Regions from separate parts of the Homo sapiens genome. Here region 2 is linked to region 1. The links are contacts of gene promoters, found by promoter capture Hi-C in blood cells and fetal thymus (Javierre and others, 2016). All regions are on one chromosome and are shown on one strand. Each heading gives the region's core, a stretch centred on a gene start or on the middle of the fragment in contact. The rest is flanking DNA. Distances are from core to core; before and after follow the strand shown. Region 1 holds the start of PRR5L (proline rich 5 like). Region 2 has its middle 27 kb from the start of TRAF6.

Region 1 (5,143 bases), core at 2,158-4,657:
AATAGAATTAACATTCACATACCATACAATTTATCCATTTGAAGTGTAAAATTCGATGAATTTTAGTATACTCACAGAGTTGTCCAACTATCACCACAATTAATTTTAGAACATGTTCATCATCCCCAAAAGAAACAGCATATCCTTTAGCTATCAACACCCACCTCTGCCCCCAATTCTCCCCATCACACCCAGCCCTAGGCAATCGCTAATCTGCTTTCTGTCTCTATGGTTTTGCCTTCTGGACATTTCCCATGAATTGGATCATATGATACGGTTTCTCCTCTTATACTAAGTAAAGGAAACGAGTACAAAAGACCACATATCATATGTTTTGTACTCGTTTCCTCTACTTAGCATAAGAGGAGAAACTTCTTCAAGGTTCGTTCATGTTATAGCCTGTATCGGTACTTCATTCGTTTTTTGCTGAATAATATTTTTTTGTACAGATATACCATAGTTTGTTCATTCATCAGTTGTAGACATTTGAGTTGTTTCTACTTTTTAGCTGTTGTGAGTAATGCTGCCATGAGCAATCATGTACAAAGTTTTTGTGTGAACATGTGTTTCATTTCTCTTGGAGTATACACTGAAGAGTGGAATAGTGGAGTTTCTGGGCCATATGATTACTCTGTGTTTAACCTTTTGAGGAAGTGTAAGACCATTTTCCAAAGTGACTGCACCATTTTACAGTCCCCAGAAGCAATGTATAAGGGTTTCAATTTCTCCACATCTGCACCAACATTTGTTTAAAAAAAAAAAGAGACAGAGAGATGGGGGTCTCTGCTCTTTTACCCAGGCTGGAGTACAGTGGTGTAATCATGGCTCACTGTAGCCTCAAACTCCTGGGCTCAACTGATCTTCCCACTTCAGCCTCCTGAGTAGCTGGGACTACAAGCATGCACAACCATACCCAGCTAATTTGATTTTATTTGTTTTAGAGACAAAAAATATGTTTTGTCTCTAAAACATATGTTTGCTATGTTGCTCAGGCTGGTCTCAAACTCCTGGCCTCAAACGATCCTCCTGCCTCAGCCTTCTGAGTAGCTGGGATTACAGATGGGAGCCACTGCATCTGGCTCTGCCTTTTTGATTATAGTGATCCTAGTGGGTATGAAGTAGTATCTCATTGTGAGCCGTCTTGTTTTGAAGTTGCATTGGTATATCAAACACATTTTGTAACTGGTTCTGTCTTTTTGATTATAGCAATCTTAGCGGGTATGAAGTGGTATCTCATTGTGAGCAGTCTTGTTTTTAAGGTGCATTTGCATAGCAAACACATTTTGTCACTTACGCTACTTTGGTTCATTTGAGGTAACTGATGAAGGTTATGGAAGCTTAAATAAACTCCTATTCTCCCCTTTGGTTTCACTACTAAGTCCTGGCTGCCTTCTTTGTCAGAGGAATGCCTGCAGGAGGTGGATTAGGCCCAGGGTCCTGCAGTCCTTTAAGGAGAGCCCTTGCCACCCTCCTGTTATTCCCCTAGTTTCCCTTTTCCTCACCTTTGTCTCAGTCCAGAGATGAGGGTGGGTTGCAGGGGGAAAGGGCTGATCAATCTTTTTGACTTTATGCCCCCTTTGTGGCTTTGACGTGGCCTGATCAGCTCACCAGTCGTCTTAGTCCATATGGGCTAATATAACAAAATACCATAAACTGGGTGGCTTTATCAACAACAGAAATGTGTTGCTCATAGTTCTGGAGGCTGGGAAGTCCAAGACCAAGGCATTGGCAGATTCTATGTTTGATGAGGACGGTTTCCTGGTTCACAGATGGTGTCTTCTCACTGTGTCCTCAAATGGTGGCTGTGGGCAAGGGAGCTCTCTTGGGCCTCTTTATAAGGGCACTAATCCCATTCATGAGGGCTCCACACTCATGACCTAATCACCCCCCATAGGTCCCACCTCCAAATACCATCACCTGGGGGTGAAGATTTCAGCATATGAATTTGTGGGGGACGCATACACTCAGACCGTAGCGCAAGTTGGGGACAAAAGCTCTGAGTGTCAGCAGGGTTGCACTGGCTTGGAAATGCTGGAAATCTGGAAATTTCCAGATCAGGCATCACAAACTGCATGATCTAGGGCTCACATTGCATTAACAATGTTGTGTTTGGTCCACAGTGTTTCAAAATTGGAAAACTCGACATAAAAAATCCAGCCTTCTGGCTTTTCTTTAAAAATGTGCAGGCCCAACCATGCTGTTTCCACCTTTCTGCATTGCAGTATTTGGCTGAGGCTGAGCCCTGGCTGCCCTCTGAAGACTGGTGTGAGCTTTCAAATCCCCACAGTTCCCGCCACACACTGTTGCATCACAGTGGGCCCTCTCCACACATTTGTCACCTGTCTCATACTTGAGAATATTTATTAGTGCCCAATTCCTTCAGGGACCTAACAGGGTGAACTTAGGCCATAGTAGGTAACAGGGCTAAATACAGACACTTGGGATCCTGGCTTTCCAGCCATCCCCATACCATCTCCTCATGAGTACAAGCAAGTTTCAGGTGTAATGTGGGCATCTAATTTGTGATTTGTGGTTCTTGATCACTTTTATGGGCCAGCCACTGTTCTAAGAGTTTTGCATATATTAATTCATTTAATCCTCCTAGGAACCCAATCATAATCCCGGTTTACAGATGGGAAAACTAACACCCAGAGAAAACACTTGCTCACAGTCCATGGGTAATAGTTGCAGAGTCAGAATTTGAAGTCAGGAGCGAATGAGGTCATTTTGCAAGGTTGCTCATGACCTAGTGTCTGGTTCATTATGGGGGTTCAGTGGGTGCAAGCTTTATAATATTCATCTAGTCTTGCCAACTGCTGCTAACGTGCTGCATGGCTGAGGTTTAGTCCCAGCCAGATGTCCCATCACAAAAGTTAGGCATTGAAGTGGATGACATTTGTGTTTAGAGAAATGATATGTCTCATTCTTTTCAGCTCTAACTTGGGGTAAGTTTCTGAAAGCAAGTAAGAGAAAAGGAGAGGGACATTTGTGATCTCTCATGTATAGAAGACTAACAAAGAGGCAGGTGGTCACACCTGAAGGCACGTCCCCTGACCCTTATTACATAATGCCATGGGCTAAATGTCCAAAATTCCTCTCCCAGCTCTGATTGGCCTGGCTACTATGATGAGTGAAGTCCACCAGGGAAGACACTGTGGCCTCGTTTCTCATCCTCCTGTCCCCAGGAGTAACACAGAAGCAGCTAGTAACACAACAGCATTGTCCTCACATACACAGGCCTGCTTTGTTTCCCCACCACACAGAGCAGCCGCTGTAACAATGGCCCCGAATGACACTTTACCCTCCTTTCTCCAATGTTGCACTTGTTTTTTTAGTCTGGAATGGGCTAAACAATGATTTCCTGCAGGGGGTATCAGCTTTTTATATTTTCTGCCTGCTTCTCTGTCAGTCTTCAGGCCCCAGGTCAGTGAGTGGCAAGCCAGGCCCAGAGATCTCTGCGCCCGTTGGAACATCCCCTTCTCGGGAGGCTGGAAGGCCATGGTCATTCACCTCTCCCCAGCAAGGTGGGACCTGCCCTGGAAGAAGAAACCAGACCAGGTAACACAAGAGAGACAATGAGAGCTTGGGGCTAGGGGGTGGGGTTGCAGGGGATGGCTGAGTATCCAGCCCAAGGAGGATGGGTTTCTGGCTTCAAGACATCCGATTTTCTTGAAAGCCACCATCTGCTGTTAAATAAATAATGAAAAGCAACAGAGGTCAAGTTCAGCAGCCTCCCAGTTAGAAAAATACCCTCTGTCTGTCTGGCCCTGTTCAGTGCCTCTGATATCTCTGGGTGACCAGGGTCTTCATGGCCCATGTAGATTTACTGAGGTGGCTGTTGCCTTAATAATAGCTGCTAGTACTAAGCTCTTTCTCTATGTATTGCATATGTATACCTATTACTGTATGTCTCTCATTGAATGAATAGTAATGATAGCAAACCCTTATACAACATGCCTCAGATTCTTGCTTCTTTCAAACCCAGGGAGTCGGGTTCTAGAATCTGCGCTTTTCGTCATCATGCCCCTTGTAAAGCATTTTTTTTTACAACATCCTGCTAATAAACCAAGGTCATCACAATATTTCACTTTGAGAGGCAATGATATATGATGATAGCTATGTGTATTGTGAGTCCTTTGCCCTGTGCCAGGCAGCATTCTAACTGTTTTGCAGCTATTTCATCAGATAGATACTTTATGATCTCTATTTTATGGATGAGGAAATTGAAGTACGGATAATTTAAGTCATTCACCCGGGGTCACACAGTTGTTAAATGGCAGAGCCTGGATTTGAATTCAGTTTTCTCTTAAGTAGTATGGGAATCTTAGACCCGCCCAGCCCTGCTGGTCTGGAGTTATTCTGCTTCTCTAGGTCATGGTGTATAGAGGGTGACATTCAGTTTCTGGCTTCATAGAACATCTGCACCCAAGTTGACAGCTTAAGGAATTTTTTCGTTTGTTTATTTTAAATGATTTTTCTATTGGCATCAGCTTTTGTCTTGCTTGAAGAAGATGGAATTGCTCAATGACGACAGTGAAGGAATTTGAAAGGGTAAGAATTGCTCAATGAGTGGTATCTCTTTTTTGGCCAGAGACCAGGCTAAGTTGCCTCATATGTAAGAGAACATACGTCAAATACACAGGACTCATGGTATATTATGGAAGCAAACTTTATTTTTGCCTATCATTGTCCCTAATTTTTTTCAGCAGGTCCTCCCTCTTCCCTTGCCCTGGGATGAAAATTAAGGTAGGTCCACAACTCTTATGGGCCCCCTTCAGGAATCAAAAGTTCTTAAGTCGCTTTTAGTTCCAGCACAGCCTCATTCAGCAATTGGGATGTCCAGTCCCAGGGAATCAGCCAGATCTTTGAATTTGGTTCCCAGTGGAGACTTTTCTCCCTCCTCCAGTGGGGCCTGCAGCTTGGAAAGGGGGTCTGTGGTTGGCTTCTCATTTCCCACGTTAAGCTTCCATCCTTCTCTCCTCTGGCTTACTGATGATTCTGACTCCTGGCAGGGGGAAGGGGAAAAGAGAAGAGGCAGGAAAGGAGCTGGAAGTCCGTACTTGGTTAATGCTGTGGCAAGCTGGCATTTCAGTGGCAGGTTCTGGTGGGTGTGTAAACCTAGTTCTTTCTCTCTAGGCACAAT
Region 2 (4,587 bases), core at 1,436-3,935, 240 kb after region 1:
CTGTAAATGGACTAAAATTATAATTTTACTTCTTTCTTTGATCTAATAGCCATTTAGGGTTATGTTTTAAAACATTTAGATCATCACAATTTTCTCTTTACCTTTGACTACATTATATTACATTTTGACTGGAGGATTGTTCCATAAAATTGTGTCATTTTGGAATGTATCAAGGTCTATCATGTGATCAATTTTTGTAAATATTCCATGGATTCCTGAAAGAAGTTGTTGGCATTTTTTAAAAATAGGGTGTAAAGTCTGAAATATATATATTTCAAGTTCAACAATTCCATGGATTCTGTGTCATTTTGGAATGCATCAAGGTCTATCATGTGATCAATTTTTGTAAATATTCCATGGATTCCTGAAAGAAGTTGTTGGCATTTTTTAAAAATAGGATGTAAAGTCTGAAATATATCTATTTCAAGTTCAACAATTCCATGGATTCCTGAAAGAAGTTGTCAGCATTTTTAAAAAATAGGATGTAAAGTCTGAGATATATCTATTTCAAGTTCAACATGTTAATTATAATATATGCATTGTTTAAATATATACTCACATATAGGCCAGATGTGATAATCCCAGCATTTTGAGTGGCCAAGGTGGGCAAATCACCTGAGCTCAGGAGTTCGAGACCAGCCTGGCCAACATGGTGAAACTTTGTCTTTACTAAAAATTCAAAAATTAGCCAGGCATGGTGGCGTGTGCCTGTAATCCCAGCTACTCAGGAGGCTGAGGCAGAAGAATTCACTTGAACCTGGGAGGTGGATGTTGCAGTGAGCCAAGATAGAGCCACTGTACTCCAGCCTGGGCAACAGAGCAAGACTCCCTCTCAAATAAATAAATAAATAAATAAAATAAATAAATAGATACACACATATAATTTATTACATAGTAGTGTGTTTTCTTATTACAAGTGAATTTCTGTCCATTTATAGTCTTTTTTTTGTTTTAAATATTTCAATGCTATATCATTAACCCATGAAAAATAATTATTGTTAGCTCATCATTGTGGATTATGTATAATTTAGTTTCTGGTCTCTATCAGGCATTCATCTCTTTCAGATCTGCTAGACCAGGTGGATATCTATCAAGTTCTCTTTCTTTCCTGCAGAGTTAACTAGGTGAGTCTTTCACTTCTTAGGGAAGCTAAAGTAATAAAAAATAGAAACAAGTGAATCATTTGTAGTAAGAAATATAAATGGATGGAAGTCACCTATTACAAGGGAAGGATAGGATTAAAACATCAAATCCAATTGTAAACAACTTAAAAAAATCTAATGAAATGAAGTACTATTAGTTAAAACTGGAAACAATTCAAATGGCTACCCACTGTAAAATGCTTAAGTAAATTTTGATATATTATACAATACAATATGGCAATGAAACCAACTAAAATAGACCTATACACAACAAATGGGCTGGATCTTAACCATCATGTTGAATGAAAGAAGCCAGAAAAAAAATTTATTGCTCTTTTATTTATACAAACTTCAAAAATCTTGCTCTTAGGGAGGTATTTATAGGTATTAAAAGTCTAAAATAAAACCAAGAAGCATTCACTCTTAAGATGTGAGTAAAAAGGAGCATCTAAGATGCTGGTAAGATACTATTTCTTGATTTGTGTGGTAGTTCTATGGGTATTTGCTTTATAAACATTAATCGTACTGTGCATAAAAACATTTTGTATGTGTAATATACTTCAAAGTTTTTTAAAAGACAAATAAGAAGAAAAATAGCATAGGTAGGTGAAAGGATGAGGATATATAAAGTAAATAAAATATTTATATTTTATAAAGTAAATAAAAATTTTATATTTATACTACATATATAAAGTAAATTTACTTATGTATTTATTTATTTTTTGAGACGGAGTCTTGCTCAGTTGCCCAGGCTGGAGTGCAGTGGCACGATCTCAGCTCACTGCAAGCTCCGCCTCCCGGGTTCACCCCATTCTCCTGCCTCAGCCTCCCGAGTAGCTGGGACTACAGGCGCCTGCCACCACGCCCGGCTAATTTTTTGTATTTTTAGTAGAGACAGGGTTTCACCGTGTTAGCCAGGATGGTCTCGATCTCCTGACCTTGTGATCCACCTGCCTCGGCCTCCCAAAGTGCTGGGATTACAGGAGTGAGCCACCGTGCCCGGCCAATATATTCACTTTAAATACAAAACAAACAACAACAATAAAACAATTCAGAGGCAGAAATCATTTTCCTAACTTTAGTAGAAATAAAAAATCTTTATACCTGTTGAGCCTCAGTTATGTAAGATGAGTAAGTTCTAGAGATCTGTTGTACAACCTAGTATCTATAGTTAACAATATGGTATTGTGCACTTTAAAATATGTTTAAATAAATATGTTTAGGCCTCGTGTTAAGTGTTCTTCACACAAAAGCAAAACAAAACAAAATGTAAAAGAACATAAGAAAATTTTCGGAGGTGATAAACATATTTAGGGTCTTGATTGTGGTGATGGTATCATGGGTGTATATACATGTCAAAACTCATCAAATGTGTACATTTTTGTGCATCAATTTATATTTTTTTAATCTATCAGTTATACCTCTGTAAAGCTTAAACAGAAGAAATCAAATAAAATATCAAATAGCATAGAAAAGTCATTTTATATTATCATACTTCCTTATCTTTGTGCTTCAAAGGTAAGTATTTTTCTTTGAAAAAGATTTTTTCAAGATCCTTTGTTATTCTTTAAATTTTAAAATTTTAATAACTTATGCCTTGAGGAGATTTCTGATCATTATCTTTATGAGAGTATGGTGATAAGCCCTAAAAAGCTAAAGCTTTGTTTTAGCTCTGGAAAACTGACTTTAATTACATCTTGAATAATGATTGCATTACATTTCATTTGATTTGATTCAGTTATCTTTGGGGGAACACCCACCATTTCTTGGATGTCTTTTCACCATTTCACTTATCCTATAGTATCTATCTCCATTTTTTTCCCTGATTATTTTCATCTCTTTATTCATTTCTTATGCAATCTTAGATCGTTCCTCCAGTTTGTCTTCTGCATTACGTTGTAAAATTGTCTTTTAAAGCATAAATTTATTTTATCCCTTCTGCTTGGGTGTTAGTTTCATTGTACTTTCTTCTTGGCTGATCTTCTTACCAAGGCCCTTACTTGTTCAATGGAGGCAAGTCCTTATAGGAACAAAAGTAAAAATGTTGCAATTTTTCTTCTGTTTTAGAAAAGCCTTTTCTACTAAAGTATTTGGTCATTAAAAATGTTTTTCCTTGTACTGTAGAATTTCTTCATAGATATCACATTGATTTTGTTCTATTACTGATCCTTGAAAGAGGAGAATTCTATGTAGAGCTAGTAGTGTTAAAGAACAGTATGCTGCCTATTTCTCCTATCACCATTCAGGGTGCCATCCAGGGGCCAGCTGCAGTCCCAAATGCTAGCTGCAGCTCCTGCTTGGGTGTAAAGCCCAAATCTACCACATATAGAAAAGGCAATGCTAGCTTTCTTTCCAAATGCAAAAGCAAACAAACTCACATTGAAATTGTTCTTGCTCTATTCGATAGGTTATTATTTGGAAGAATAAGAGCAAATGGGGTAGGTTTTTGGTTTGTTGTACACTTTGCAGGTTCCTTTTAGTTTCACGCATTTTCTTTTAGATGGTAAAACAAATACATGTTCATTGAACTCAGCATAAATCTTACATGCGTCTAAAGCTGCAGTTACGAAAAGGCACAGTGAAGTTTTCGAGCGGTTTTTTGAGGAGTCTTTAACCTTTTTTCCTCTGGCTGATTTCTTGGTTAGTGCAGTGATGCGTGGCTGAAATAAATTTTTATTCTTGCCTTTGAAGTCTGCTTCTCAAATACTTGTGACAGCTTCTTATCTGAGGCGGATTTTCAATTCAGCTTCATGCTCCAAAGCCTTTTTGCTCTGGGCTGCCCAGTTCATCAGGGTCACCTCCCTTCCCACCCATCTCCAAGCTGGAACCTGTCCATGGGGCTGTCCTGTCGCTCAGGAAGAGGCCTCAATTCAATCATTAATGCACTTTCTCTTTTCTCCCTCCCCTTACTTCTCAGTCTTTTTCTTCTGTTTTTCTTCCAGGCAATTTTCTCTGCAAAAATTGATGAATGGATTGAGACTCTTGTGGATTGAATTGTGTACCCCTCACATTTGTGTACCCCTCACATTGAAGCCCAACCCCAGTGTTATTGTATTTAGAGATCAGGCTTTTAGAAGGTAATTAAGATTAAAGGCGGTCATAAGGGTGGGGTCTTAACCCAATAAGACTGGTATCCTTATAAGGAAAGAGAAACACCACCAGGGATGCATGCACAGAGGGCTATGGAAGAACACAGCGAGAAGGCAGTCATCTGCAACCCAAAGGGAGAGGCCTCAAGAGAAACCAGGCCTGCTGACACTTTGGTCTTTGTCTTCCAGCCTCTGGAAGTGTCAGAAATAAATGCTTGTTTAAGCCATCCAGTCTGTGGTGTTTTGTTATGGCAGCCCTAGGTGACTAATATAGACTCTGTCTACCCATCATCTGCTAATCTTTAGAGACTTCTTCTGGGGATCTTGCATATGTCCAGTTTTTTTTGTTTTTAGTT

Evidence for each region. The method cuts DNA at HindIII sites, captures the fragments that hold promoters and counts their contacts. A CHiCAGO score of 5 or more calls a contact.
Region 2: a fragment that was not itself captured here is called in contact with the fragment with the promoter of PRR5L in region 1 in 3 of 17 cell types (endothelial precursors, megakaryocytes and M0 macrophages); the score reaches 7.3 in endothelial precursors.

Annotation. Positions count from the first base shown.
Region 1 is chr11:36,292,881-36,298,023 of GRCh38, forward strand. PRR5L (proline rich 5 like) reads left to right here and starts at 3,408. Exons shown (of 9, transcript NM_001160167.2): 1 at 3,408-3,558. The HindIII fragment of the contact is 2,178 bases long and covers 2,784-4,961 here.
Region 2 is chr11:36,534,911-36,539,497 of GRCh38, forward strand. It overlaps a transcript of RAG1 not described here. Among named protein-coding and RNA genes, the nearest start is that of TRAF6, 27 kb to the left of the region's middle. The HindIII fragment of the contact is 228 bases long and covers 2,572-2,799 here.